Regions from separate parts of the Homo sapiens genome. Here regions 1, 2, 3, 4, 5 and 6 are each linked to region 7. Evidence: promoter capture Hi-C in human tissues and cell types (Jung and others, 2019). All regions are on one chromosome and are shown on one strand. The core of a region is centred on a gene start or on the middle of the fragment in contact, and the rest is flanking DNA. Distances in the headings are between cores, read along the strand shown.

Region 1 (4,104 bases), core at 1,596-4,095, 510 kb after region 7:
TGTCTTTCACTCCTATGCAGTTTGAGTTCATGATCGAGTCCATCCTGTATGCCCGGGATGCCTGGCTGAAGGAGGACGGGGTCATTTGGCCCACCATGGCTGCGTTGCACCTTGTGCCCTGCAGTGCTGATAAGGATTATCGTAGCAAGGTGCTCTTCTGGGACAACGCGTACGAGTTCAACCTCAGCGCTCTGAAGTAAGTGTCCACAGCTGGGACTGGCACCGTCTTGTGGGGCCTCCTGGTCCACAGTCTGCAGGTGGGCCAAGGCCCTGGGAGATCCCATACGACGGTTGGATAAATGAGGGTACCTGTGCACCCAGATAGGACAATCTGTTGTAGCATTGGAGTAATTAAAGCAGTATGGTGCTATAACAAGACAGATGGGCAGAGCAGGGTAGAATGCAAGGAACAAAAATTTTCGTATGTGAAAAAGGTGGCATTACGATTAGGAGGGAGTGAGGGCCAAGTCAGCAAATTATTCTGGAGCAGTTGATTAGCCCTTGTTCTCTCACGCCATACGTGAAAACTTAATTCTGCATGGAATCAGCGTCAGCGACAGACATCCATGGGGGCCTGTGTGCACCATCTTAGGTGGAGAAATGAGCAGCAACAATGGATGGAATGGACCCTGGGCTAGATAGAATCTGGCAGTCTATGTGGCAGAAATCAGCAAAAACACGATTGTAAAAGCAAACAAGTAATTAGAGAAATCACGTGCTGTCAGGTCTTGGAATCAATTAGAAAGAGATGACTAGCCAGATGGAATTGCAGCCCAATCATGTGAACAGGCAAACCGCAAAAAATAAATAAAATTACCAATAAATATATGAAAAATTATAATGTTGTTAGTAGTTAAAATGCGAATTAAAATACATGCTGTTTTCCCTACCAGACAAGCAAAGAGTAAATTAAAATAGTAGCCCAGGCTTGCCTGGCAGTGGCAGGGAGGTGTGGCTGCCAGGGCCTTAGAGGTTGGCATCAGGCTGCCCACCCCAGTCACTGCCAGAGCCTCCCACCTGAGTGTTCCTCCCGGCACTGGAAGCCAGTGGCCGTCCAGAGGAACGTGATTGAATTGCTGTATATCCATCTGGTGGAGCACTGCTGTGTGTCTGTTAAAAAAGAAACCATAGGTTTTTAGGGATATGTAATGATATTTAGAAAGGGTTTAAGAGACAGTAAAGCTTGGCAGAATAAACCGTGTATACAGAATGGATGTTTGCTTGCATAAATAAATTTATATAAATATGTCTGGGGGATAAAAATAAGTATATCACAATGCTAAGACAGGCATATGGGGAATTTAAGCTTTTCTTTATACTTGTCCATAGTTTCCAATTTTTAAATTTGTAATTTTTTATCAGAAAAATAAATGTGTAAATATAGTGGAATCTTTATTAAAACATTCACTTTTATTTGCTATTTCAGAAGTTACTGCTTTGCTTATTTTTTACAACATTTCTGTGGTAAATAATCGGTGACTTACAAGCCTAGTGCAGCCAGTGATGGGGGTTGGCAAACGGTGACATGCAGGGGCCATGCGGCGTCTAGTGTCTGTTTCTGTGTTGAATTTGTGTAGCAACAGAGCAAGTATTTCTCCTGAAACTCAGACTCACTCAGGCCACCTCAGCCCTTCTAGTTCCTTTCGTTTATTATAGAGTAACCTACAGCAGGAATACCGCGTTCATTTACTGTTAATAGAAGATCCACAAAAGATTTTGAAATCAAATACATTCTAAAACTAGGCAAGACACGCTGCAACTCCCCTTGTCCTCTGGGTTATGAGGGGTGAGCGTTGGTTTCCGTGTGCTCAGATCCCATGAATGAGACCTCACAGGGAAGCGCCCAGTGACTGGCAGGCTCCTTAATGCCTCCAGGTCAGGCTCAGGAAGTCTCTGGATGCCTGGGTAGAGTCTGGGTCTTCTCAGAGCGGGAGGCACCCAGGGCCTGTGGAGGCCTGAGGGCTGCTCTGGGGTTCCAGGGCCCCAGATAGTGGCTTAGCATCCTGGTGACACAGAAGGGAGAGCACTCACCGCGGTCCCACGTGTGTGTTTTGAAGCCTAAGATGTTTGCAATGACTCTCAACAGTCGCTTTGACCTTTTCCCCTAGATCTTTAGCAGTTAAGGAGTTTTTTTCAAAGCCCAAGTATAACCACATTTTGAAACCAGAAGACTGTCTCTCTGAACCGTGCACTATATTGCAGTTGGACATGAGAACCGTGCAAATTTCTGATCTAGAGGTGAGAAAAAGATGAATTGCTCCTTACATTCGATAATCAGTGACCACGAAACACTCAGACCAGAGCCTGGCTTATCAAAAACCTTCAGTGAGTGCTGGGGGTGTGAGTGAATAACTAATTATTTTATTATGCAAATAAGTGAATTTATAAAACGTTTGCTACTGATTTTTTCCAGTCTTTTTTCTTTTTTACGTTCTATTTTGATTCTTTCATATTGTACACCATTTTATGTCTCCAGCGTCTTCATTTTAGATTTATGTTTAATATTCTCAGCATCTTCAAAATCAAATAAATTATATTTCGTTTCATTATGGTATTTGCATTACAGTTTTTTTCAAGTATTTTAAGCCACTCTTCATGACAGAATCGTTAGAATTCCCTCCGTGAATCCCTGTCTGTGGCCGCGCGGTGGCGCTCGTGGGCTCTGGGCGGTTTCCCCGCGCCCCCGCCCTGCCTGGCGCCCCAGCTGGCGCCGCGTCTGGAGATGGGGCGGGCGCGGTGGCGCCGGCGCGCTTTGGTTTTTAGTTCGTTCTGCTGTGGAAAGGCCCAGCCTGGAGCTCTCCAACTCCTTAACTGGAAGAGCTGAGCGCCGAAAAGATTCCGCAGAATCTGGGGTAGAAAATTGGGCGCAAGAAGCTCAGATGCTTGAAACGTTTCTGACTGAAGCCTCTGAACTCACGATGCGGGTTTTGGGGGTGGTTTCCCCAGGCTGGGGGGCTTTTCTACGGTTCCTGACGCATTCAGCGTCTGCGCGGGGCGCGTGGAGGGGGCCGCCCCAACCCGGGCCCTGCGGTGCCACGCGGTGCCCACGCGTGCCTTGTCATCTGCTTGACCCAGACCCTGAGGGGCGAGCTGCGCTTCGACATCAGGAAGGCGGGGACCCTGCACGGCTTCACGGCCTGGTTTAGCGTCCACTTCCAGAGCCTGCAGGAGGGGCAGCCGCCGCAGGTGCTCAGCACCGGGCCCTTCCACCCGTGAGTGTGCGGGGCGCGGGCACGGGGTGCGGGGTGGGGGGCAGGGGAGTAGGCGGGGTGCGGGGATGGGGCGCGCAGGAGGGGGTGGGACGCGGCGTGGCGGTCGTGGGGGGGTGGGGCACGTGGGGGCGCGGGCAGTGGGGTGGGGGCGGCGCGCATGGGGGCACGGGTGGTGTAGACACCGCAGCCTGTGTGCCCCCTTCCGGGTCTCGCCACCACTCTGGGCCCAGCCTGGGCGTCCCTCCGACAACAGCCCCAACGGGAGGAGCTCCCTGTCTTCCACCCCGCGAGGAGCACCACAGCTCTTCATGGTCTGACCCAAAGCGCCTCCACGGGGCGTCGGGGTTCACCTGACGTTTTTGGAGGTGCCTGTTTTTTGGGACACATTTCCCCGCCAGCACCCTGGGCATGTGTGGCAGTGGAGCTGCCTTCAGGGCCCTGCAGGCCTTCCCTTTGGGTGGGGTTGGCTACCCCGCTCTGGCACCTGCCCCGCTGACTTCCCAGCGTGGTGGCCCCGCGAGGGGACCCCGGCTCCAGGGAGGTCGCAGAGGTGCGGGGTTGATGGCCTGGCCTGGCATGTGGTCCCCATCACAAGAGTCCTGTGGTGGCCCCTCCAGTGCCATCACCGGGTGGAGGTGGGCAGCTTGGAGGCCAGTTATACCCATCCCCGAGTCTGGGGGCGTGGAGGGGGCAGTGACCTGGGGCACAGGCTGGGGTGAGGGGTGTGACCAGAGTCAGGGAAAAACTGGAGACCTGAGGAGCCCCCCACTTCACTGCTGGCCCCACCGTGGACAGTGGGAGTTTGAGGGAAGACAGAGCCTGAGGAACTTAGAGATGTTTCCAACGCAACCCAGTGCAGAATCATAGCGTTTTACTATTTCCCCCCAAATGT
Region 2 (3,515 bases), core at 685-3,184, 320 kb after region 7:
GAGGGTCAGGTTGCAGTGAGCTGAGATTGCGCCACTGCACTCCAGCCTGGGTGACAGGGTGAGACTCCGCCTAAAATAAAAAAAAAGATTTGTGTGTGTGTGTGTGTGTGTGTGTATTTCTTTTTTTTTTTTTTTCTTGAGTCAGAGTCTTGTCCTGTCGCCCAGGCTGGAGTACAGTGCCACTATCTCGGCTCACTGCAACCTCCGCCTCCCTGGTTCAAGTGATTCTCCTGCCTCAGCCTCCTGAGTAGCTGGGATTACAGGAACGCACCATCACACCCAGCTAATTTTTTTGTTTTGTTTTTTTTTTGGTAGAGGCAGGGTTTTGCCATGTTGGCCAGGCTGGTCACGAATTCCTGACCTCAGGTGATCCACCTGCCTTGGCCTCCCAAAGTGTTGGGATACAGGCGTGAGCCACCACGCCCGGCCATCTTTCACATTTAGATGCGTAATTCACCTGGAATTTAATTTCATGCGTGGTGTGAGGGAAGAGTGATTTCATTTCTATTGCAGTTGGGTAATCAGTTGACTCAGAACATTTGGAAGAGGCTATCCTTCCCCTGCTGCTTCGGACTGATTTCTGCTGTGTTGTTCTACTTGCTTATCTTAGCACCTGCTCCATTCTGTCTTCATATCTGGTAAAGTCTGCCCTTTTAATTTTATTTTGTTTTTCAAGCTTGATTTAGCTAATCTTGGCCCTTTGTATTTCCCTATATACTTTGGAATCAGCTTGTCAATTTCTATGCAAGAAACTTTCAAGAATTTTTTTTTTTTTTGAGAGGGAGTTTCGCTCTTGTTGCCCAGGCTGGAGTGCAATGGCGCGATCCCGGCTCACAGCAACCTCCGCCTCCTGGGTTCAAGCCATTCTCCTGCCTCAGCCTCCCGAGTAGCTGGGATTACAGGCATGTGCCACCATGCTTGGCTAATTTTGTATTTTTAGTAGAGATAGGGTTTCTCCATGTTGGTCAGGCTGGTCTCGAACTCCGGACCTCAGGTGATCTGCCTGCCTCGGCCTCCCAAAGTGCTGGGATTACAGGCGTGAGCCACCACGCCTGGCAAAACTTTCAAGAATTACTCAGGCTGACTCTTGTGATCCACTTGGAGAGAAATTACACTTCACAGTATTGAGTCTTCAGATTCATGAATGTGGTATATCCTTTCATTTCTTTAGGTCTTTAATTTATCTCAGTAATGTTTTTATAATGTTGTTAGTTTCTGGGTAGTGGTCTTGCACACCTTTCATTAAATTTATTCCTGGATTTGAGATACAGTATTTTTCAGTCCTAGAATTTATGTTTTTTTTTTTAAATTCACAATCCTGCTTTTTAATTCCCTAAACATATTGATTATGGTTATTCTAAAGTTCCATTTTCTATAGCTTTCTATTATTGTTTCTCATGGATTTTAGTCATAGTTTCTTGCTGCCATATGTGCCTAATTACTTCTGATCAAATGCCAGACATTGTCTATATAGTGATCATTTGTGACCACAAAGGGCTTACTTTTGCATCTGGTAGGTAGATAGGTTGGGAATAGATGCAGTCCAAGATCACTTTAATCTATATAGAGAGAAAGTGATTTGAAACTGGCTCCAGTCCTTATGAGTGCTGCTCTATTTTTAGTTCATACCCAAGGTGTGGTCCTTCTGAGTCCCAACAAACAACCTGGGATGCTTTCCAGGGCACCTCGTCCGTGATGAGCTCCTGCCTCTCTGAGTCTGTCCAAGTTCCACTCAGTTCAGCTACTTGGTGATTACTTTTTGACTTCACTTGGCCCTCAGTTCTTCACTTCTGTAATGTCTTCAGATTTAAAGAAAAACTTTAATGTGATCTTTTTAGTTGTTCCCATTGGAAGAGTTGGTCTGAGTGCTATAATTTTGTCAGTGCCATAAATGGAGTTCCTATGTGTGTGTATGTATTCAGTTTAATGAACATATTTTTCATATTTTATTAAAAACTGAGATAAAATATTTACTACACATTTAAAAAGCCCGCTTTTAATTACAAATGAATGAGACAGTGGACATTCAAACACTGCTGTGGAAGCATATCTATACTCTTCAGCGTTAAGCATAATAATTTGCTTATTTTTTTTTAAGGTCTCATTCTGCTATTCAAGCTGGAGTGCAGTGGTGCGATCATAGCTCACCGCAGCCTCGAACTCCTGGGCTCAAGCAATCTTCTCACCTCAGCCTCCCTAGTAGCTTAGGACTATAGGCATGTGCCACCACAGCCAGCTAATTGGTTTTTTTTCTTTTTTTGTAGAGACAGGGTCTCTTTATGTTGCCCAAGGTGGCTTCTAACTCTTGGGCTCAAGCAGTCCTCCCACCTTGGCCTCCCAAAGTGCTGGGATTACAGATGTGAGCCACCATGCTTGGCTGCATAAATAATTTAAATTGCAGTCAGATAGGCTCTACTTTTGTGTATTAGATCTGTATATTTAAGACCCCTGTGTTTGGAAACTTTAAGGCTTGGAAAGTGAAATCTCTACGTGCTTATATTAAGAACGACTGTTACCAGTGAATGGTGCCACCGTGCAAAATATTACTCTTCACAGATTTTCCTCACCTTTTGTTCTGTGTCACGAGCTTGGAGACTGCCTGTATTTTTTTTTTTTTTTGTGTGGCATCTGTTTTCAAGTTTTATTATGGTCAGGTATTGTATTAGTCTGTTCTCATGCTGCTAACAAACACGTAACCGAGACTTGGTAATTTATAAAGGAAAGAGGTTTAATGGACACACAGTTCCACATGGCTGGGGAGGCCTCACAATCATGGCAGAAGATGAAGAAAGCAAAGGGACGTCCTACGTGGTGGCAGGCAAGAGGGCGTGTGCAGGGGAACTGTCCTTTTATAAAACCATCAGATCTTGTGAGACTTACTATCCGGAGAACAGCATGGGGAAAAACCTGCCCCCGTGATTCAGTTACCTCCCACTGGGTCCCTCCCATGACACGTGGGGATTATTACAATTCAAAGTGAGATTTGAGTGGGGAGGACACAGAGCCAGACCATATCAGGTGTGGATCATCCCTCATTTTATTGTTTCCTCCTGCTCTGTGTCGGCACCTCCAGTAGGACCTGTCTAGTCGTGGCAGCTGTGGGCTTTCCCAGCTGCCATGGCACAGAGACCTTGCCTTGGGATCCTGGGTAAGCTTGTGTGGCCCAAGTTGGGACCTAGTGGACTCTTTGGACCCGTTCTTTGGCAGCAAGGGAAAGGCCAATACCTTTCCAAAGGAATAAACACTGGCAGCTGTGTCCAGCTCACTTGGGTCCAAGGTCTCTGGTGTGTATCTGATTTCTGGCTGGTGCCCACCTTGGAGGCGGTAAAAGTGACCTGACCAAAGGCAGACTGTACTGTACTGGATTGGAACCTGCCGGGCCCTTGGGGCTCCCAGCCATTGTGTCATGCCCTGTTGGGGTGCTTCTTCCTTAGCCACACTTGGTCCATTGTGGAGTCACCCAGCTGCTAACTGCCTGAAGTACTTCTTTGTCAGACACTCCTTTCAGACTCCGG
Region 3 (3,805 bases), core at 1,306-3,805, 460 kb after region 7:
CATTCAGGAGCAGGTTATTCAATTTTCATATAATTGCATGGTTTTGAGCAATTTTCTTTCTTTCTTTTTCTTTTTTTGAGATGGAGTTTTAGTCCATCACCCAGGCTGGAGTGCAGAGAGGCAATCTCGGCTCACTGCAACCTCCACCTCCTGGGTTCAAGCAATCTTCCCACCTCAGCCTCCTGAGTAGCTGGGATTACAGGCATGTGCCACCATACCTGGCTCATTTTTGTATTTTTAGTAGAGACAGGGTTTCACCATGTTGGACAGGCTGGTCTTAAACTTTTGACCTAAAGTGATCCATCCGCCTCAGCTTCCCAAAGTGTTGAGATTATAGGCGTAAGCCACCCCACCTGGCCTTGAGCAATTTTCTTGTGCTGTGGTCCAAGAGAGTGGTTGTTATGATTTTAGTTCTTTTGCACTTGCTGAGGAGTGTTTTATGTCTTATTATGTGGTTGATTTTAGAGTATGTGCATGTGGTGATGACAAGAATGTCTATTCTGTTGCTTTAGGGTGGAGAGTTCTGTAGATGTCTATCAGGTCCATTTACTCCAGTGCTGAGTTTAGGTCCTGAATATCTTTGGTAATTTTCTGCCTCAATGATCTGTCTAGTACTGTCAGCAGGGTGTTGAAGTCTCCCACTATTATTGTGTGGGAGTGTTAAGTCTCTTTGAAGTGCTCTAAGAACTTGCTTTATGAATCTGGGTGCTCCTGTGCTTGGTATAGATATGTGTGTGTGTGTGTGTGTATATATATATATATATATATATATTTAGGATAGTTAGGTCTTCCTGTTGAACTGAACCCTTTAGCATTTTGTATGCCCTTCTTTGTCTTTTTTGAGTTTTGTTGGTTTAAAATCTTTTTTGCCTGAAATTAGGATTGCAACTCCTACTTTTTTCAGTTTTCCATTTGCTTGGTAGATTTTTACCCATCCCTTTATTTTGAGCCAGTGGGTGTCACTGCATGTGAGATGGGTTTCTTGATGACAGCATACTATTGGGTCTTGGTTCTTTATTGAGCTTGCCACTCTGAGTCCTTTAAGTGGGGATTTAGCCCATTTACATTCAAGGTTAGTATTAATATGTGTGGATTTGATCCTGTCATCATGATGTTAGCTTAGACCTGAGTTTCTAAAATATCATTTTTCCTTTCTCTGGAGAACTTCTTTTAACATTTCTTCAGATTTATTAGCAACAATGTTTGTTTGTCTTAGAAAGTCTATTTCTCCTTTACTTTTGAAGGACAGTTTTGCAGACCGCAGAATTCTAGGTTGGTGGGTGTATTAGTCTGTTCTTACACTGCTAATAAAGACATACCTGAGACTGGGTAATTTATAAAGGAAAGAGGTTTAATTGACTCACAGTTTAGCATGGCTGGGGAGGCCTCAGGAAACTTACAACCATGGCAGAAGGGGAAGCAAACACATCCTTCTTCACATGGAGGCAGCAAGGAGAAGTGCCGAACAAAAGAGGAAAAAGCCCCTTATAAAACCTTCAGATCTCATGAGAACTCACTCACTATCTTGAGAACAGCAGCGTGGAGGTAACTGCCCCCTATGATTTAATTACTTCCCACCAGGTCCTTCCCATGACACATGGGGATTACAATACAAGATGAGATATGGGTGGGAACACAGCCAAACCATATCAGAGGGTTTATTTTTACAACACTTTAAATATAACCATGTGTCATGTAACAACATTTTGGTCAATGGCAGATTGCATATGCGATGGTAGCCTCATAGATTATAATGGAACTGAAAAATTTCTATTGCCTAGTGATGTTGTAGCCATCAAAACATTGTAGTGCAATGCATTACTCATGTGTCTGTGGTTATAGTGGTATAAACAAACCTACTGTGCTACCAGTCACATAAAAGTATAGTACATCAAATTATGTACGATACGTAATACTTGACAATGATCATAAATGACCATCTTACTGGTTTATGTATTTACTATACAATACATTTTATTATTTTAGATGGTACTCTTTCTATCTATCTATCTATCTATCTATCTATCTATCTATCTATCTATCATCTATCTATCTATCTATGTAAAGTTAGTTAACAGTTAGTTACCAGTAAAATAGCCTCGAGCAGGTCCTTTGGGACATATTCTAGAACAAGGTGCCGTTATCATAGAGAATGACAGCTCCATATGTCTCATTGTCCTTGAAGACCTTCCAGGGGGAAAAGATGTGATGTAGAGGTGGAAGACAGTGATATTGATGGTTCTGACCTGTGTAGGCTTAGGCTAATGTGTTTGTGTTTCAGTTAAAAAAAGAGTTTAAAAAGTAAAAAATTTAAAAATTGTTAAAAATGGAAACAAGCTTATAGATTAAAGATATAAAGAAAGAAAATATTTTTGTATAGCTATACGATGTGTTTGTATTTTAAGCTAAGTGTTATTACAAATGAGTCAATGAGAAAAAAAGTTTATAAAGTAAATAAGTTATGGTAAGCTAAGTTTAATTTATTATTGAAGAAAGAATAATTTTGTTTTGTTTTTGTTTTTGTGACAGAGTCTTGCTCAGTTGCCCAGGCTGGAGTGCAGTGGTGCAATCTTGGCTCACTACAACCTCCACCTCCCAAATTCAAGCGATTCTCCTGCCTCAGCCTCCCAAGCAGCTGGGATTACAAGCATGCGCAACCAAACCTGGCTAATTTTTGTATTTTTAGTAGAGACGGGGTTTGACCATGTTGGCCAGTCTGGTCTCGAACTCCTGACCTCAAGTGATCCACCCACCTCGGCCTCCCAAAGTGCTGAGATTACAGACTTAAACCACCATGCCCGGCAAGGATATTTTAAATATTTTAAAATAAATTTAATGTATGACTGGCTGCAGAGGCTTAAGCTTCTAATCCTAGCACCTTGGGAGGCCGAGGCAGGAAGATTGCTTGAGTTCAGAACAGCCTGGAGTTCAAGAACAGCCTGGGCAATGCAGCGAGACCTTGTCTCTAAAATAAATAAATAAATAAATTTAGCACAGCTTAAGTGTACAGTGCTTATAAGCCTACAGTAGAGTACAGTGGTGCTTATAAGTCTGCAGTAGAGTACAGTAATGCTTGCAAGCCTACAGTAGAGTACAGAAATGCTTATAAGTCTGCAGTAGAGTACAGTAATGTCCTGGGCATTCACACTCACTCACCACTCAAGCACTAACTCACCCAGAACAACTTCCAGTTCTGCAAACTCTGTTCATCGTAAATGCCTTATATGGGTATATCATTAAAAATCTTTTATATCATATTTTTACTGTACTGTTTCTATGTTTAGACATAAAAATACTTACTATTGTGTTTCATTGCCTACGGTATCCAGTAGTAACATATTGGACAAGTTTGTAACCTAGAAGCAACAGGCTGTATCATACAGCCTAGGTATATAGCAGGCTGTACCAGCTAGGTTTGTGTAACTGCACTGTATGATGTTTGCGTAAGGACAAAATTGCCTAATGAAACATTTCTCAGTATGTATCCCCATCATTAAGTGATATATGACTCTATTTCATTCCATCTTCTTCTCGCTTGCATAGTTTTTCAGGAGAAGTTAGATGTAATTTTTATCTTGCTTCTCTATGGTAACGTGTTTATTTTCTCTGGTTTCTTTTGAGATTTTTCCTTTAACTATGATTTTGTGAAGCTTGAATGTGATATGCCTAGTTTTGGGGGAAGGGCATTTATCCTATTTGTGTTCTCTGAGCTTCCTGGAGCTGTGATTTGGTGTCTCACATTAATCTTGGGGAAATTCTCAGTCATTATTGCTTCACATATTGCTTCTGTTCCTTTCTCTCTTTC
Region 4 (4,028 bases), core at 781-3,280, 360 kb after region 7:
AGCTAATTTTTTCTTTCTTTCTTATTTTCTTTTTTTTATAGAGATGGGGTTTCACTGTGTTGTCCAGGCTGGTCTTGAACTCCTGGGCTCAAGTGACCTGCCTGCCTCAGCCTCCCAAAGTGCTGGATTACAGGCGTGAGCCACCATGCCTGGCCTTTTTGATTGAATATTGTATGTTGTGTATAAAAACATTATGGCAGGTCCAGACAATGCCATCTTCCTTAAGAGAAACCTCTTTCCCCTCCAAGTAGAGTAGTGGCTGGCTGGTCGCTGCAGTCCAGTCATGCCTGGCCCAGCCGGCCTTTGCTCTCCTCTGGCTCTCCTGGGCTTTCTGCCAGTGCCTGGTGTGTCCATGTGTCTCTTTCCTCTGATGGCTTCCCAGCCGTGGCGTTGGTCTCCTCGTGGCTTCTTAACAACCCCATTCTGCTTTTCAGAGGTTTTCCACATGGGCTCTTGGTCTCCTGCTGCACACAGCCAGAGGATTCAGCACATGTCCTGCAGGAGGTGGCTGTGCTCTCGAGACTCCTAGCCTCTACCAAAAGCTCTGCAGGTTTCTTCATGTCCTGGTGGGACTGCTCCAGGTGGATACTCAGCCCCCCGTGGGGGCTGGAATCCCTGAACATGGACAGCGTAAAGACAGCTGCAGCTCAGCTCACTTTCCGGAGGGTTTTCCCTCTCTGGAATCTTAACTCCTCTAGTTGTCTTTGCTGAGCAGCAACTTGCTGCCTCCAAAAGATCATTTCTGCATTTTATTCAGTTTTTAAACTCATCTTAGGCAGGAGTGCTGGTCTGCCACCAGTACCCTCTCCTACTCGGAAGCAGAGTCTTCCACCATTGTGCTTTTAAAATTCATCCATGTTATTGCGGGTAGTTGTAATTCATTTATTTCTGTTGAGGAATGAATATATCAGAATTTACTTAAGCATTATGCTGTTGCTGGAATACATGGGCTGTATCCAGTTTTAGCTACTAGAAACAGTGCTCCCAGGAAGATTCTGGTGTGTGCCACGTGGTAGCTAAGCATATGTTTCTGAAGGTTGAGTACTTAGGAGTGGAAGTACTAGGTCTAGGGTTATGGGCACCTTCACATTGCTGAGATGGCATCACCGTTCTCCAGTTCACCCTTGGCCCATCAGTGTGGGTGGGCCCTACCTGCTCCCCATCATTATCAGCACTTGGTATTGTCAGGCTTATGAATTTTAGCTACTCTCGTGAGAATATGGTGGTATTTCATTGTGGTTTTAATGTGCATTTTACTGATAACTAAATAGATTGAGATCTTTCCTGTCATTTTAACTTGCTCTTTTGTTAAGTACCCCTTGAATCTTTTACACATTTTTTCTGTAGTGAACGGCTGGGCACGGTGGCTTACATCTATACTCCCAGCACTTTGGGAGGCTGAGATGGGTGAATCACTTGAGGCTAGGAGTTTGAGACCAGCCTGGCCAACATGGCAAAAGCCTGTCTCTACTAAAAATACAAAAATCAGCCGGGTGTGGTGGCATGCGCCTATAGTCCCAGCTACTCGGGAGGCTGAGGCATGAGAATTGCTTGAACCCAGGAGGTGGAGGTTACAGTGAGCCAAGATTGCACCGCTGCACTGCAGCCTAAGTGACAGAGCGAGACCCTGTCTCAAGAAGTATATGTAAATAAAATGAAAACAAGTTTATTAAGAAAGCAAAGGAATAAAAGAATGGCTACTCCATAGGCAGACCAGCAGCTTGGGCTGCTGGACTAAGAATACTTAGAGTTATTTCTTGACTATATGCTAAACAAGGGGTGGATTATTCATAAATTTTCTGGGAAAGGGGTGGGCAGTTTCTGGAACTGAGGGTTCCTCCCATTTTAGACCATCTAGGATAACTTCCTGACGTTGCCATGGCTGCTGTAAACTGTCATGGCACTGGTGGGAGTGTCTTTTAGCATGCCAATCATTGTAAGTAGTATATAATGAGCAGTGAGTTCAACCAGAGGTCACTTACATTGCCATCTTCATTTGCGGGGACTTGGCCAGCTTCTTCACCACACATGCTGTTTTATCAGTAAGGTCTTTATGACCTGTATCTTGTGCCGACCTCCTATCTCATCCTGTGACTTAGAATGCCTAACTTCTGGGGGTGCAGCCCAGCAGATCTCAGCCTTATTTTACCTAGCCCCTATTCAAGATGGAGTTGCTCTGGTTTAAACGCCTCTGACATATTTCCCCTCTCTGTTTTATGAGAGAAGCCTTAATTCTAAAGGTTGTAGAGGGACAAAGATTCATCTTCTATAACTTCTTCAGGCTGAACAGGAGTGATGACATTCCTGCCTAACTATTAGGGTCTTTTATATTTGAGAAAGAAAGGAGCTAAGTCAGAAAGCATCAGTATGGTGAGGGCCATTCATAACGCCAAGAAAATTTGGTATCTGGAAGATTAATAAGTGTTCAGTTTAAGAAAACATTGAGTAAGCTTATCCTGCATTCCTACACAGAGTACAACAGCAATATATTCCACAACAGTAAAACAAAATAAGTAAAATTATCCCAAGTAAATTAAATAGGGATTTTCATGAACTGGGTAACTGTTGGAACTAAGATGATATGGGATTGCTAGCTGATTCCAGTGTGCCCAGAATTAGAATATTGATCTAGATTTTTTTTTTTTTTTTTTTTTTTTTTTTTTTTTTTTTGAGATGGAGTCTTGCTCTGCTGCTCAGGCTGGAGTGCAGTGGTGCGATCTCGGCTCACTGCAAGCTCCGCCTCCAGGGTTCACGCCATTCTCCTGCCTCAGCCTCCCAAGTAGCTGGGACTACAGGCACCCGCCACCACGCCCGGCTAATGTTTTGTATTTTTAGTAGAGACGGGGTTTCACCATGTTAGCCAGGACGGTCTCGATCTCCTGACCTTGTGATACACCCATCTCGGCCTCCTCAAGTGCTGGGATTACAGGCATGAGCCACCGCACCCAGCCTGATCCAGATTTTTACATTACCCATCTCTCTTGTTTCTCTCTACTTTACTCAATTGTTAAAAGCTGTAAATAGCTCAAAAGAGAAGTTTTCTTGGCTCTGAAAAACAAAACAAAGAATCAGCAACAATTTAAGCAAAAAGTCAAAACAAGTTACTTCTGTTTTCTACTGGTTCTATTAGTCCTATTAGTTCAGCTCATGTCAAAACAAGTTACTTCTGTCTTCTATTAGTTCTGTTAGTCCTATTAGTTCAGCTCATGCAGTTAACTCCTGTTCGATATTCATGAACATTTTGGCTCTCCATGAGAGTCCTGAAAGTTTTTCCTCTATTCTAATGTCGCAACCTCCAAAGTTATCAGAAACCTGCATTCAAAAACACCTGTTAGAGTTCTCTAGTTGATTATAAAACCACCTTCTAAAGAGGACCCAAACAAGACAACAATTTTGTATGGATGACAGAATGCCTTAGGGCAGCCTCTACAAAAGCCACAATTGACTAGGAATTTTGATTACTTCTGTGACATGGAACAATTTAACATACCAATTATATTAATAACATGTACTGTCATATCAGAGTTATAGAAGTTTCACACGATTTTGGAACACAAACCAATAACATATTTATACAAATATAGCCCAAAGAAAGCCACGCATCATTTCATATCTGACAGTGCTTGCTGTGTGATTTTTATACCAAATAAGCTGAATATGTCATTTTTTGGACTTGAGAGGACCTAATATCTAAAAGATTAATTAGGTCAGGAAAAGGCAGAATTTAGAGTATGATGTTGGAAAGTTTGTCAAATATTAAAGGTTTAAACGCTTGATATTACAAAATAGAATCCCAGGTCACCATAAGTCATTCATTTACCCAAAATGATAACTCAAAAATTTTTAAAAGGCAAAATCCTTTACTCATTAATAGAAGGAAGACTTAGCTTTCCAAATAATCTGTCTCCTTTCTTTCCCTTCTTTTTCCTATAGTTTATTCAAAAGGCAAACAAAAATCTTTGTTTTCTTTTCTTTTTTTTTCCTGAGACGGAGTCTCACTCTGTCACCCAGGTTGAAGTGCAGTGGCG
Region 5 (4,043 bases), core at 105-2,604, 350 kb after region 7:
AAAACAGCCTGCTCAGATTGTTTCTGTAGCTTTCCTGGGTGTTCCATGGCCAGAGGCTGCTGCCCACCTTTCCTCAAGGTGGTGTACAGTCCATATCTTGAAAACAGCTTTTGCACTGTTGTTTGCCTTCTCTGTTCATCGTTGGTGATTTAACTTTGTAGAAATACATAGTTAACTCCAATTCTGAGGCAGGGGCAGGAAAACAGTAGTTTTAAATGTTCTGTTACCTCATTTCTTCTCCCAGAAGCTCCTTTCTAGGTGAGATGGTGCAGGAGAGCAAACAAAACATTTGTAGTTTGAGTTTATTAGCCATTGCTGAGTCATCTCAACACTGTTTCCGGGTGGGTTAGAAATAAAAGCTTATTCAGCATGAAAAATTAGCCACAGTTCAGAATGTTTAACCGTACAGCCCTCAACTTTCCAGTGATTGTGGGGTGTCTTTAAGCAAAGCATTGAACTCTAATGTGTGTTTGAATTAGATGTTTTCATTCTCTGAAAAGGACTTGGCTGCAATTATTTATAATGTAGGTTTATTACCTATGTTGGTGGAAGACAGCTCCTGACTCCTGCAGATGCAGCTGTAATCATCTCTTCCTTTCTTGTTAGTCCTAGCATCAACATTTTGTGATCAATTCTAATACATTTAAAAAAAATTCTTAACTTGGACTTGATTTAATACTTTGCTTACAGGATTGCAATTTTCTACAGATTGTAGCTACCCACATCCTAAATGTTGGACATAGTTAATTTGAATTTCTAAATCTCAAAAATACTCAACTTCCCTCTTATGACAGAAATCATCCTTTGTTTTAGTTTCTAACACTAGATGTGTCTTCAATTTAAACTAAGGAAAGAAACATGAAAAGAGGAAGAATATATTAAGTAAAAAATTCGAGGTAGAACATATCAGGTAAAGATAATTTTTAAAAATATATCACTTTCAGTTTTGGATTAAGGAAATCAAATACATTAAGCCTTTTTTATACAAATGTAAATACCTATTTTTAAAAGCAGTACTTTTAATTATAGTAGCTTCTTTTAATTATAGTAGCTTATTTTTATTTTGAATGTAGTTTATGTTTATTTTTATGCAGCTTTTTTTTTTATTTTTCCACCTAGAGACAGGGTCTTGCTCTGTCACCCACGCTGGAGTACAGTGGCATGATCATAGGTCACTGCAGCCTTGAACTCCTGGGCTTAAGAAATTCTCCCACCTTAGCCTCCTGAGCAGCTGGGACTATAGGCAAATGCCAGCATGCCTAGCTAATTTTTAAAAATTTTTTGGAAAGATGGAGTTTTTACTGTGTTGCCCAGACTGGGCTTGAACTCCTGGGCTCAAGTGATCCTCATGCCTTGGCCTTTCAAAATGTTAGGATTATAGGAATGAGCCACTGCTCCCAGCCATTATATAGCTGTTTTAAAAAACTACTTGTAGTACATGTATGTATACCATGTATACCTTTTTTTCCATATATACTTTTAAAATCATTTATTCTTTTTGCTAGATTTGGAAGAGTGGGGAAATTTCTTTTTAAACTAAAAGAACCTCCTGATAGACATACTTTAAAATGCTAATTTGATCAGCATCAGGCTTTTTCAAGGGTTGTGAAAAATCTTAACGGTTTAGATTTTTTCAAAAGGTATATTCTGCTATGCAGACAGTGAGTTTGTGCTTTCATATACTTCAGCTTTCTACAAACCTAGTAAAAAGTTACTGCTTTACATTGTACCTAGGAGTACCACAGTGATACTAACAGGTACCTTCATTAAAATATTAAACATTACCAGTTGTCTCTACCTAACATAGACTAGTGTTTATTTATTTATTTTTTTGGAGATAAGATCTCACTCTGTGGCCCGGGCTAGAGTGCAGCGGTATGGTCCTAGCTCACTGTAACCTGGAACTTCTGGGCTCCAGTGGTCCTTTCACCTCAGCCTCCTAAGTAGCTGGGACCACAGGTGTCCACCACCATGCCCAGCTAATTTTTTTTTTTAAGAGATGGGAGCTCACTATGTTGCCCAGGCTGATCTCAAATTCCTGGGCTCAAGTGATCCTCCTGCCTCAGCCTCCCAAAGTGCTGGGATTATAAGTGTGAGCCACTGCACAGCTAGTGTTGATTTTTTTTTTTTTTTTTTTTTTTTTTTTGTGACAGGGTCTCACTCTGTCCCCCAGGCTGGAGTGCAGTGGTGCAATCTTGGCTCACTGCAACCTCCACCTCCCGGGTTCAAGCGATTCTCCTGCCTCAGCCTCCCGAGTAGCTGGGATTACAGGCATGCACCACCACGCCTGGATAATTTTTGTATTTTTAGTAGAGACAGGGTTTCACCGTGTTGGCCAGGCCATTCTCGAACTCCTGACCTCAGCTGATCTGCCCGCCTTGACCTTCCAAATTGCTGGGATTACAGGTGTGAGCTACCATGTTGGCCCCTATGTTGATTCTTATAAATGGGCGAGCATCTGTGTATTCATTGTTGTGGTAGAACACAATTTCTATAGTCATATAGACACAGTGCCTTTCCTAGTGGTAGACCCAATTATAACCATAATTCCTATAGGAACTTACAGTCAGCCAGCATTCTGAACAGATAGATGGACTGTACCATGGAAATAAAACACAAAAATGTACATTCAGACAATGGAAGGAGTGACTTTTACATATGTTCCAGATCTAATGTCTGTTTTTAAATGTTACACCAATTCTACTTTAAGAACTTGATTGTGGCCAGGCGCGGTGGATCACACCTGTAATCCCAGCACTTCAGGAGGCCGAGGTGGTTGGATCACTTGAGTCCAGGAGTTCAAGACCAGCTTGGCCAATATGGTGAAAACCCGTCTCTACTAAAAATACAAAAATTGGCTGGGTGTGGTGGCACATGCCTGTAATCCCAGCTACTTGGGGGACTGAGACAGGAGAATTGCTTGAACTCAGGAGGCAGAGGTTGCAGTGAGCCAAGATTGTGCCACTGCACTCCAGTCTGGGCAGTGATAAAGTGAGACTCCATCTCAAAAAAAAAAAAAAAAAAGGAACTTGATTGTGGTCTCTTAGTTTTGCAGCTGTTTTAACTGGCAGTGGGGGAAGTTTTAATTTCTGTAGTTTTATTCTTTTAGGACTGCAAAGGTTTGGTGTCCAACATACTTTTTTGGGGGTTGTAGTAGTTTGTATGATCCTGGCTGTTTTTTTCATAATGTAACAAAAAAATGTACCAGTGACAATTGATTTCAAATTTGTTTCTGCTTCCTTGAGGGAATTTCTTCCTTCCTTCCTTCCTTCCTTCCTTCCTTCCTTCCTTCCTTTCTTTCTTTCTTTCTTTCTTTCCTTTCTTTCTTTCTTTTTCTTTCTTTCTTTTTCTTTCTTTCTTTCTTTTCTTTCTTTCTTCTTTCTCTTTCCTTCCTTCCTTCCTTCTTTCTTTCTTTTTTCTTTTTGAGAGAGAGTGTCGCTCTGTTGCCCAAGTTAGAGTGCAGTGGTGCAATCTCAGCTCACTGCAACCTCCGCCTCCTGGGTTCAAGTGATTCTCCTGCCTCAGCCTCCCCAGTAGCTGGGATTACAGGCATGTGCCACGACGCCCGGCTGATTTTTGTATTTTTAGTAGAGACGGGGTTTCGCCATGTTGGCCAGGCTGGTCTCGAACCCCTGACCTCAGGTGATCTGCCTATGTCAGCCTCCCCAAGTGCAGGGATTACAGGTGTCAGCCACCATGCCCAGCCCCTTGAGGGAATTTCTAACCAAAATCTCATCAGGCCATTGTGACAGGCAGGTTTACTCTGTGCCTGCCTCTGTGCTGAAGATGGTGGTTCTGAGTCTGGATCCCTTTGAGAATTGAGCCACCCACATGCACGCAGATGTCTGCATAACGTGTCTGGGAGTTCATAGGGTCCCAGTATGCCTTTGGTCAGCCAAGAAAACAAATTAATGAAAATACCACACTCTCCCCACTTAGAACTCAGCTAGTGGAGCTTTAGACTAACGGGGTTTCAAGAGCAGCTTAATACTCATTTGACTTAACAGCCACTTTCATTTTGGGTGTGTTTTTCAAAAGCAGAT
Region 6 (2,700 bases), core at 201-2,700, 480 kb after region 7:
CACTGCTACACAGTAGGCATATACCCCATTTTACTTATTCCCTTTTTGTTGGACACTTAAATTGTTTCTAGTTTTTTCTATTTCAAACAATGCTGTAGTGACCATCCGTCTCCATGCCTCTGTGCTCCAGTAATGGCATTGCAGGGTGCAAGGGATTGCAAGTTTCAGTTTTACTGGATAATGATCAGTTGTTCCCCACAATGACTTTACGAGTTCACAGGTCTGTCAGTAGCCCACAATAGTGCTTACTAACACTTGACAGTATCAGACTTTTAAGTTTTGGTCAGTCTCATGGGTTAGAAATGGTATTTTGTTATTTCAATTTTGCTGACTGGTCATGGTAGTATTTCAGTAATACTTGTGTTCATCCTGTTAATACCACCCTCCATTATAGAAGAGATGTCTTATAATGGTAATTTGTGTTTTATCTCTTTTTTTCACACTTGATCAATCTTTTCTTAGGGTTTTATCAATTTTATTTTTATAAAGAACCAATTTTATCTGTGTTGATTTCTCTGTTTTTCTATTTCATTGATTTCTGCTTTTGTCTTTATTTCATTCTGTTGTATTTGGGTTAATTTTTATAACATCTGAGAGGGAAGCTTAGATAATTGATTTTAAACCTTTCTTTAATAGTCTTTAAAGCTATGACTTTCCTCTAATCACTGCTGTAGCTGTACCTCACATATTTAAATGCATTTTCATTCTTCAAAATATTTTCTAATATATTCAATGGAAATTAGAAGTTTTCTGGGCTATTTGAAAGTATGTTGACCAATTTCTAAACATATTGGAAATTTTACTTTTTCTTATTTAATTTTGCTTTGATTACATTGGTTAGAGAACATAACATCCTCTATAATTTCAGTCTTTTGAAATTTATTCAGGCTTGCTTTATGTTCTAATCATATGGAATATGTTGGTGAGTGTTCCATGAGTACTTGCAAAGACTATGTATTCTGCAGTTGTTGAGTGTAGCATTCTATAAATGTCATGAAGATCAAATGTGTTATTAGTATTGTTGAAATCTCTATATCTTTTCTGATTTTTTTTGCCATCTTCTATCAGTTACTAAAAATTCTCCACTATGATTGTAGATATATCTATTTTTCCTTTTGGTTCTATCACTTTTTGCTTTGTATATTTTGAGTCCCTGTTATTGGGTGTATATATTTAGTATAGGTTTTGTTTTCTAGATTAATTGACCTTATTTTTTATAAAACATCTGTCTTTTTACCTGTTAATAAATACTTCTTTTCTTGCGTGTACCTTTTTTTTAATGCTAATATAGCTGTACCAGCTTTTTTTTTTTATCATTAGTGCTTACATAAAGTGTGTGTGTGTGTGTGTTTGTGTGTGTGTGTGTGTGTATTTTTTTTCCCTCAACTTAAGTCCTTATATTTAAAGCGTTTTTCTCGTAAAGAGCTAGTTGGGTCTAGCTCTTAGGTCTGTTTTTTTGTTTCTCTGTTAAACACAATTTCTGCCTCTTAATTGGAGTATTTAGTCTATTAACACTTCATGTTATGACGAATGTGATGAAGTGTAACATTTTGCTGTTTGTTTTATGTTTGTCACATTTCTTTTTCCTGCATGTCTCCATTCCTGCCCTCTTGTGGATAAATAAAGGATTTTCTATAATTCCATATTACCTCCTTTAATAGCTTGTTAGCTGTATCTTTTTATATTGTTTTAGTGTTTTCCCAAGAAATTGCAGTATGCATCCTAATTCAATTTCAGTCTTTTTTTTAACTACTTCATAAGGTAAAGATCTTAGAAGTTAGTTTCATTTACCAGCGTCCATATTTTTGTACTGTTGATGTAACATTTTAATTTTACATATGTTGTAAACGCCACAATAAATTATCATTATTGCTTTACGCTATCGAGTCTTTTTTTATGAAGTAAAATAAATAGTCTTTTTTATGTTTCCCCACATATTATTTGCCTTTTTTGAGGTCTTTCCCTTTTTCTTGCATTCTGTGTTTTCATGTAGGATCATTTCCCTTCAACCTGACAACTTTATGTTTATATTTACTAGTGTGAGTCTGCTGTGTCAAACTATGAAATGTGTTTTGCCTACATTTTTTTTTTTTTTTTTTTTTGAGACGGAGTCTCGCTCTGTCGCCCAGGCTGGAGTGCAGTGATGCGATCTCGGCTCACTGCAAGCTCCGCCTCCTGGGTTCACACCATTCTCCTGCCTCAGCCTCCCGAGTAGCTGGGACTACAGGTGACCACCACCACGCCCGGCTAATTTTTTGTATTTTTAGTAGAGACGGGGTTTCACCATCTTGGCCAGGCTGGTCTCAAACTTCTGATCTCAGGTGATCTGCCCACCTTGGCCTTGATGGTTTTTTTTTTTTAATTTTGGAAAAATCTCCACCATTATCTCTTCATTTATTTTTTTCTGCCTCATCTTCTGTCTTCTTTTTTGGGGTCTCCATGTAAACATAAGTTAGAATTTTTGCTGCTGTTTGACATGTCTCATGCTCTATTCTTATTTTTTTTTTCATTTTGTGCTTCAGTTTGGAAAATTTCTGTTGACCTGACTCTTGAGGCGCTGATCATAAACAAGATAACTGGGAAAACAATATGTTTGTAAAACAATTTCTTGAGATGTGAAATAGTATCTATATTGTACCAAGAGTAGTCCCAGCTACTTGAGAGGCTGAGGTAGGAGGATTGCTTTAGCTTGGGAGGTGG
Region 7 (3,606 bases), core at 736-3,235:
CCACCGCCCAGGGCTGGCCACTTAGAGATAAGCTTCTCATCCATCCACCCCTCAGGATCACTGTGGATCCCTGGCCTCTCATGAGCGGCCCACAGCCCAGCCCCTGGCCAGCGCCCGTGTGTCCACACACCTTTGGCCCTGCCTGCCCACCGAGGTGTTTGGCTTGTGGGCTGTTGACAGGTCAGCTTCCAGGCAGCCCTTCCCCCACCAGTGCCTGCTCCAAGACTGGCTCTCAGCCCCCTTGACGAGTGGGCAGGTGGACGGGGCCCACAAACCTTCCCCGGCGTGGCCCCCTCCCCCCACCCAGCCGTGAAGGTGGCCCGGTGCTGTGGGAGCGTGGCGACCTGGGGGTCCCCCAGAGCACAGCCCTGCAGGCAGGATGGGGGCCATGACCCCCACACTCCAGGGTCCTCCTAGGAGAGCCAGAGCCAGCCCCACTGGACCCCACGTTCCAAGCCTGGGCCCCGGGCCTACCCCCTCTCCCAGGACACCAGGACAGGGCTCGGCCCTGACATTCTGAGACACGGCAGCCACAGGAGAGCCCAGAGACCTCACCTTGGTGCCTGCTCATGTCGATAAGTCGGGAAGCTACCCGGGCAGCGTTGAGGGCCCCCTCCACCACGCACTCCGGCGGCCCCACGAAGGTGTACACGGTGCGGTTGGTGGAAGGGCCTGCGTCCACATCCAGCAGCACGCAGCCCGGGGTCTGTGTGATGGCTCCAGAGATGGCGTCGATCACCTGGGACACAGGCCCGGCCCCCACACCTCAGTCTCCCCGTTTGAAAGAAGGAAAAGGAGCTTGGAGGTGGCTGCACCCCGAGACACAAATGGGGGCTGAGGAGGCGGGCCAAGCCTTTGGGGGCTCTCCGACAAGCTGAGCTCCCACCGAAAGTGCCCGCACACAGCGGCCGCCCGGGAACCCTCACAGCAGCCACAGTCACTCCAGCCCAAGCACAGTCCCCACAAGGGGCTGCAGGTGGTGCCTCCAGGAGAGACTCACGGGCTCTGCTCCGACAGACAGATGCCAGAGACGTGGCCGGGGATCCAAGAAGGTGACCACAGGCGCAGGTCACAGAGGGGCCGGGACCCCCACCCCCGAGCAGGGGAGGGACAGATCACCAGCATGGGGGAGGGGCCTGAAGGGCCTAGAACCTTCCGGGTGGCAGGACTGCTGGGAGCAGGGGCTCAGCCCCAAATCTTGCCCTGTCCCAGGGCCTTGGTGCTGGCTGGAATCCCGGCATGACGAGGCCTCCCTGCACCCCTGCGGGTGACCCCTGTGGCCTGGTGCTGCGCTCTGGGAGGCCTTCCAGGTGGCCCTTAGGGCCTGCGTTTGTTCCCGGAGGAGCCTGGACCTCAGGGCTGTGGAAGGCGAGAGGCCGGACCTGGGGGCCTGCTGCCCCCTCTGTGCCTACTTCGTTTTGGGTCCAGTGAGGATGGTGGCTGCAGGGTGGGGGCTCAGCAAGCTAACTCCAGTGGAGATGGAGAGGCGGCAGTGGGGACCATGCTGGGCCACCTCGTGTGGCCTCACACAGCCCTTTCAGTCAGTGGCAGGAGCCCCATTTTCAGGGGGGAGCACCAAGGCCCTTTGAGGCCCAGAGATCTGCCCAACCCCCCACCGAAAGCACCCGAAAGGCCCCTGAAGCCACAGCCAAGCCTCAGCCCCCACAAGCACCAGTCGTGTTCCACCCACCCCTGGGTCAGGCACTCCCCAGGGCCCTGAGCCACGGGATGTCCTTGGGGCCCACGGGCAGCGGCTCTGCCCATCCTGGGAAGACGACCCGGGACACCAAGCCCACCACCTCCTCCATGGCCTGGGCCTTAGCCACTCAAGCTGCCCCATCAGCCCTAGATGCTTGACCAGCTCCTCGGGCCTCACCTCCTGGTTCTTCCCCTCCGAAAAGTTGGGGACGCATTCCACCAGCTGGGACATGGCCAGCACCTTGATCCAGATGCTCCTCTCTGGGCAGATGGAAGGACAGGGCCAGTGCTCCGCAGCCGCCGCCAGGGCCTTTATACGCTCACCGGCAGCACCTCCCCACCGGCTTCTCATTAACCAGCAAGGCACAAGGAGCAGTGGGGCCAAGGTCCCTGTGCAGCCGCGGAGTGGGGTGCTGCAGAGCCACCCCGGGTGCTGTTGACCCAGAGGGGATGGCTCCACTCAGCCAGAGTGTGGGTTCCCGGAAAAGAAGCACATGCCAGGGTGAAGGGGCATGTGCCGAGGACCCCCAGGAGCATCAGGCCAGCCTGGCTGGAATCCTGTCGTGACGAGGCCTCCCTGTGCCACTGCGGGTGACCCTCGTGACCCTGTGCTGCCTTCTGGGAGGCCTTCCAGGCAGCCCGTGGGGCCTGCGTTTGTTCCTGGAGGAGCCTGGACCCCTGGGGCTGTGGAGGGCGAGAGGCCAGCATGAGGCCCTGGCTCGCAGCACCCAACTGAGGTCAGCTCAGCTCAGACAGGAGAGTGCAGGGGAGCACGCGTGTGAGAGTGAGTGAGGATACACGTGAGGGCAGGGCAGGGGAACACGTGAGAGTGCAGATACACGTGAGCACAAGGCAGGGGAGCACATGTGTGAGAGCGTGGATACATGTGAGCACAGGACAGGGGAACACGTGTGAGAGTGAGCGAGGATACATGTGAGTGTGGGGTAGGGGAGCACACGTGTGAGAGTGCAGGTACACGTGAGCATGGGGCAGGGGAAGCAAGCATGTGAGAGTGAGTGCAGATACATGTGAGCGCAGGGCAGGGGAACACGCGTGTGAGAGTGCAGATACACACGAGACGGGCATGTGCGATATGGGGGAAGGCAGCTGAGACCCCAGCTCTCCCCAGCTGCTGCTCCCCTGACTACAGGCTCCCCACGAAGTCAGCGGCACCAGGGCCGTGCTCAGAAGGGAGAACTCCTGTCTCCACGTTCAGCCGCTGCCCACTTGCAGTGCTTTTATCATTTTCTCTTTTTTTTTTTTTTGAGACAAAGTCTCACTCTGTCAGCCAGGCTGGAGTGCAGCGGCACAATCATGGCTTCCTGCAGCCTTGGTCCCCAGGCTCAAGAGGTCCTTTCACCTTAGCCTCCTGAGCATCTGGGCCACAGGCACACACCACTACACTGGCTAACTTTTCCATTTTTGGTAGACATGGTGATATGGTTTGGCTGTGTCCCCACCTAAATCTCATCTTGAATTGTAGAGCCCATAGTTCCCACGTCATGGGAGGGACCCGGTGGGAGGTCACTGAATCACGGGGGCGGCTTTTTCCGGTGCTGTTTTTGTGATAGTGAATGGTCTCACGAGATCCGATGGTTTTATAAAGGGCAGTTCCCCTGCACACACCCTCTTGTAAGACGTGACTTTGCTCCTCTTTCACCTTCCACCATGATTGTGGAACTGTTGAGTCCATTAAACTGCTTTTTCTTTAAAAATTACCCAGTCTTGCGTATGTCTTTATCAGACAAATACACATGAGGTCTCACCACGTTGCCCAGGCTGGTCTCAAACTCCTGGGCTCAAGCGATCCTCCTGCCTCGGCCTCCCAAAGTGCTGGAATTACAAGTGTGAGCCACTGAGCCCAGCCCCACTTGAAGTTCTTTTTTTTTTTTTTTTTTTTTTTTGAGA

What was found. Contacts are between HindIII fragments. The study calls those that stand out against the background at their distance.
Region 1: a contact is called between a fragment that was not itself captured here and the fragment with the promoter of FTCD in region 7, in 2 of the 25 tissues and cell types used here (lymphoblastoid cells and spleen).
Region 2: a fragment that was not itself captured here is called in contact with the fragment with the promoter of FTCD in region 7 in 2 of the 25 tissues and cell types used here (lymphoblastoid cells and mesenchymal stem cells).
Region 3: a contact is called between a fragment that was not itself captured here and the fragment with the promoter of FTCD in region 7, in 4 of the 25 tissues and cell types used here (dorsolateral prefrontal cortex, hippocampus, lymphoblastoid cells and 1 more).
Region 4: a contact is called between a fragment that was not itself captured here and the fragment with the promoter of FTCD in region 7, in 1 of the 25 tissues and cell types used here (lymphoblastoid cells).
Region 5: a fragment that was not itself captured here is called in contact with the fragment with the promoter of FTCD in region 7 in 1 of the 25 tissues and cell types used here (lymphoblastoid cells).
Region 6: a fragment that was not itself captured here is called in contact with the fragment with the promoter of FTCD in region 7 in 2 of the 25 tissues and cell types used here (dorsolateral prefrontal cortex and lymphoblastoid cells).

Annotation. Positions count from the first base shown.
Region 1 is chr21:46,658,725-46,662,828 of GRCh38, forward strand. PRMT2 (protein arginine methyltransferase 2) reads left to right here. Exons shown (of 12, transcript NM_206962.4): 8 at 21-196; 9 at 2,109-2,238; 10 at 3,076-3,212. Among named protein-coding and RNA genes, the nearest start is that of PRMT2, 25 kb to the left of the region's middle. RefSeq lists a silencer at 2,572-2,681 and an enhancer at 2,782-2,831. The HindIII fragment of the contact is 3,202 bases long and covers 1,245-4,104 here.
Region 2 is chr21:46,477,454-46,480,968 of GRCh38, forward strand. The region is part of intron 1 of DIP2A (disco interacting protein 2 homolog A); the gene reads left to right. Among named protein-coding and RNA genes, the nearest start is that of DIP2A-IT1, 17 kb to the left of the region's middle. The HindIII fragment of the contact is 3,471 bases long and covers 200-3,515 here.
Region 3 is chr21:46,615,775-46,619,579 of GRCh38, forward strand. No RefSeq gene overlaps it. Among named protein-coding and RNA genes, the nearest start is that of S100B, 13 kb to the left of the region's middle. The HindIII fragment of the contact is 3,662 bases long and covers 725-3,805 here.
Region 4 is chr21:46,517,223-46,521,250 of GRCh38, forward strand. The region is part of intron 8 of DIP2A (disco interacting protein 2 homolog A); the gene reads left to right. Among named protein-coding and RNA genes, the nearest start is that of DIP2A-IT1, 57 kb to the left of the region's middle. The HindIII fragment of the contact is 7,528 bases long and covers 1-4,028 here.
Region 5 is chr21:46,500,320-46,504,362 of GRCh38, forward strand. It overlaps DIP2A (disco interacting protein 2 homolog A), which reads left to right. Exons shown (of 38, transcript NM_015151.4): 6 at 4,042-4,043. Among named protein-coding and RNA genes, the nearest start is that of DIP2A-IT1, 40 kb to the left of the region's middle. RefSeq lists an enhancer at 113-252. The HindIII fragment of the contact is 5,234 bases long and covers 1-3,971 here.
Region 6 is chr21:46,638,358-46,641,057 of GRCh38, forward strand. The region is part of intron 3 of PRMT2 (protein arginine methyltransferase 2); the gene reads left to right. Among named protein-coding and RNA genes, the nearest start is that of PRMT2, 4.0 kb to the left of the region's middle. The HindIII fragment of the contact is 4,299 bases long and covers 1-2,700 here.
Region 7 is chr21:46,153,594-46,157,199 of GRCh38, forward strand. It overlaps FTCD (formimidoyltransferase cyclodeaminase), which reads right to left and starts at 1,986. Exons shown (of 14, transcript NM_206965.2): 1 at 1,877-1,986; 2 at 556-739. The coding sequence starts at 1,930. RefSeq lists enhancers at 1-351, 352-1,055, 1,056-1,759. The HindIII fragment of the contact is 26,017 bases long and covers 1-3,606 here.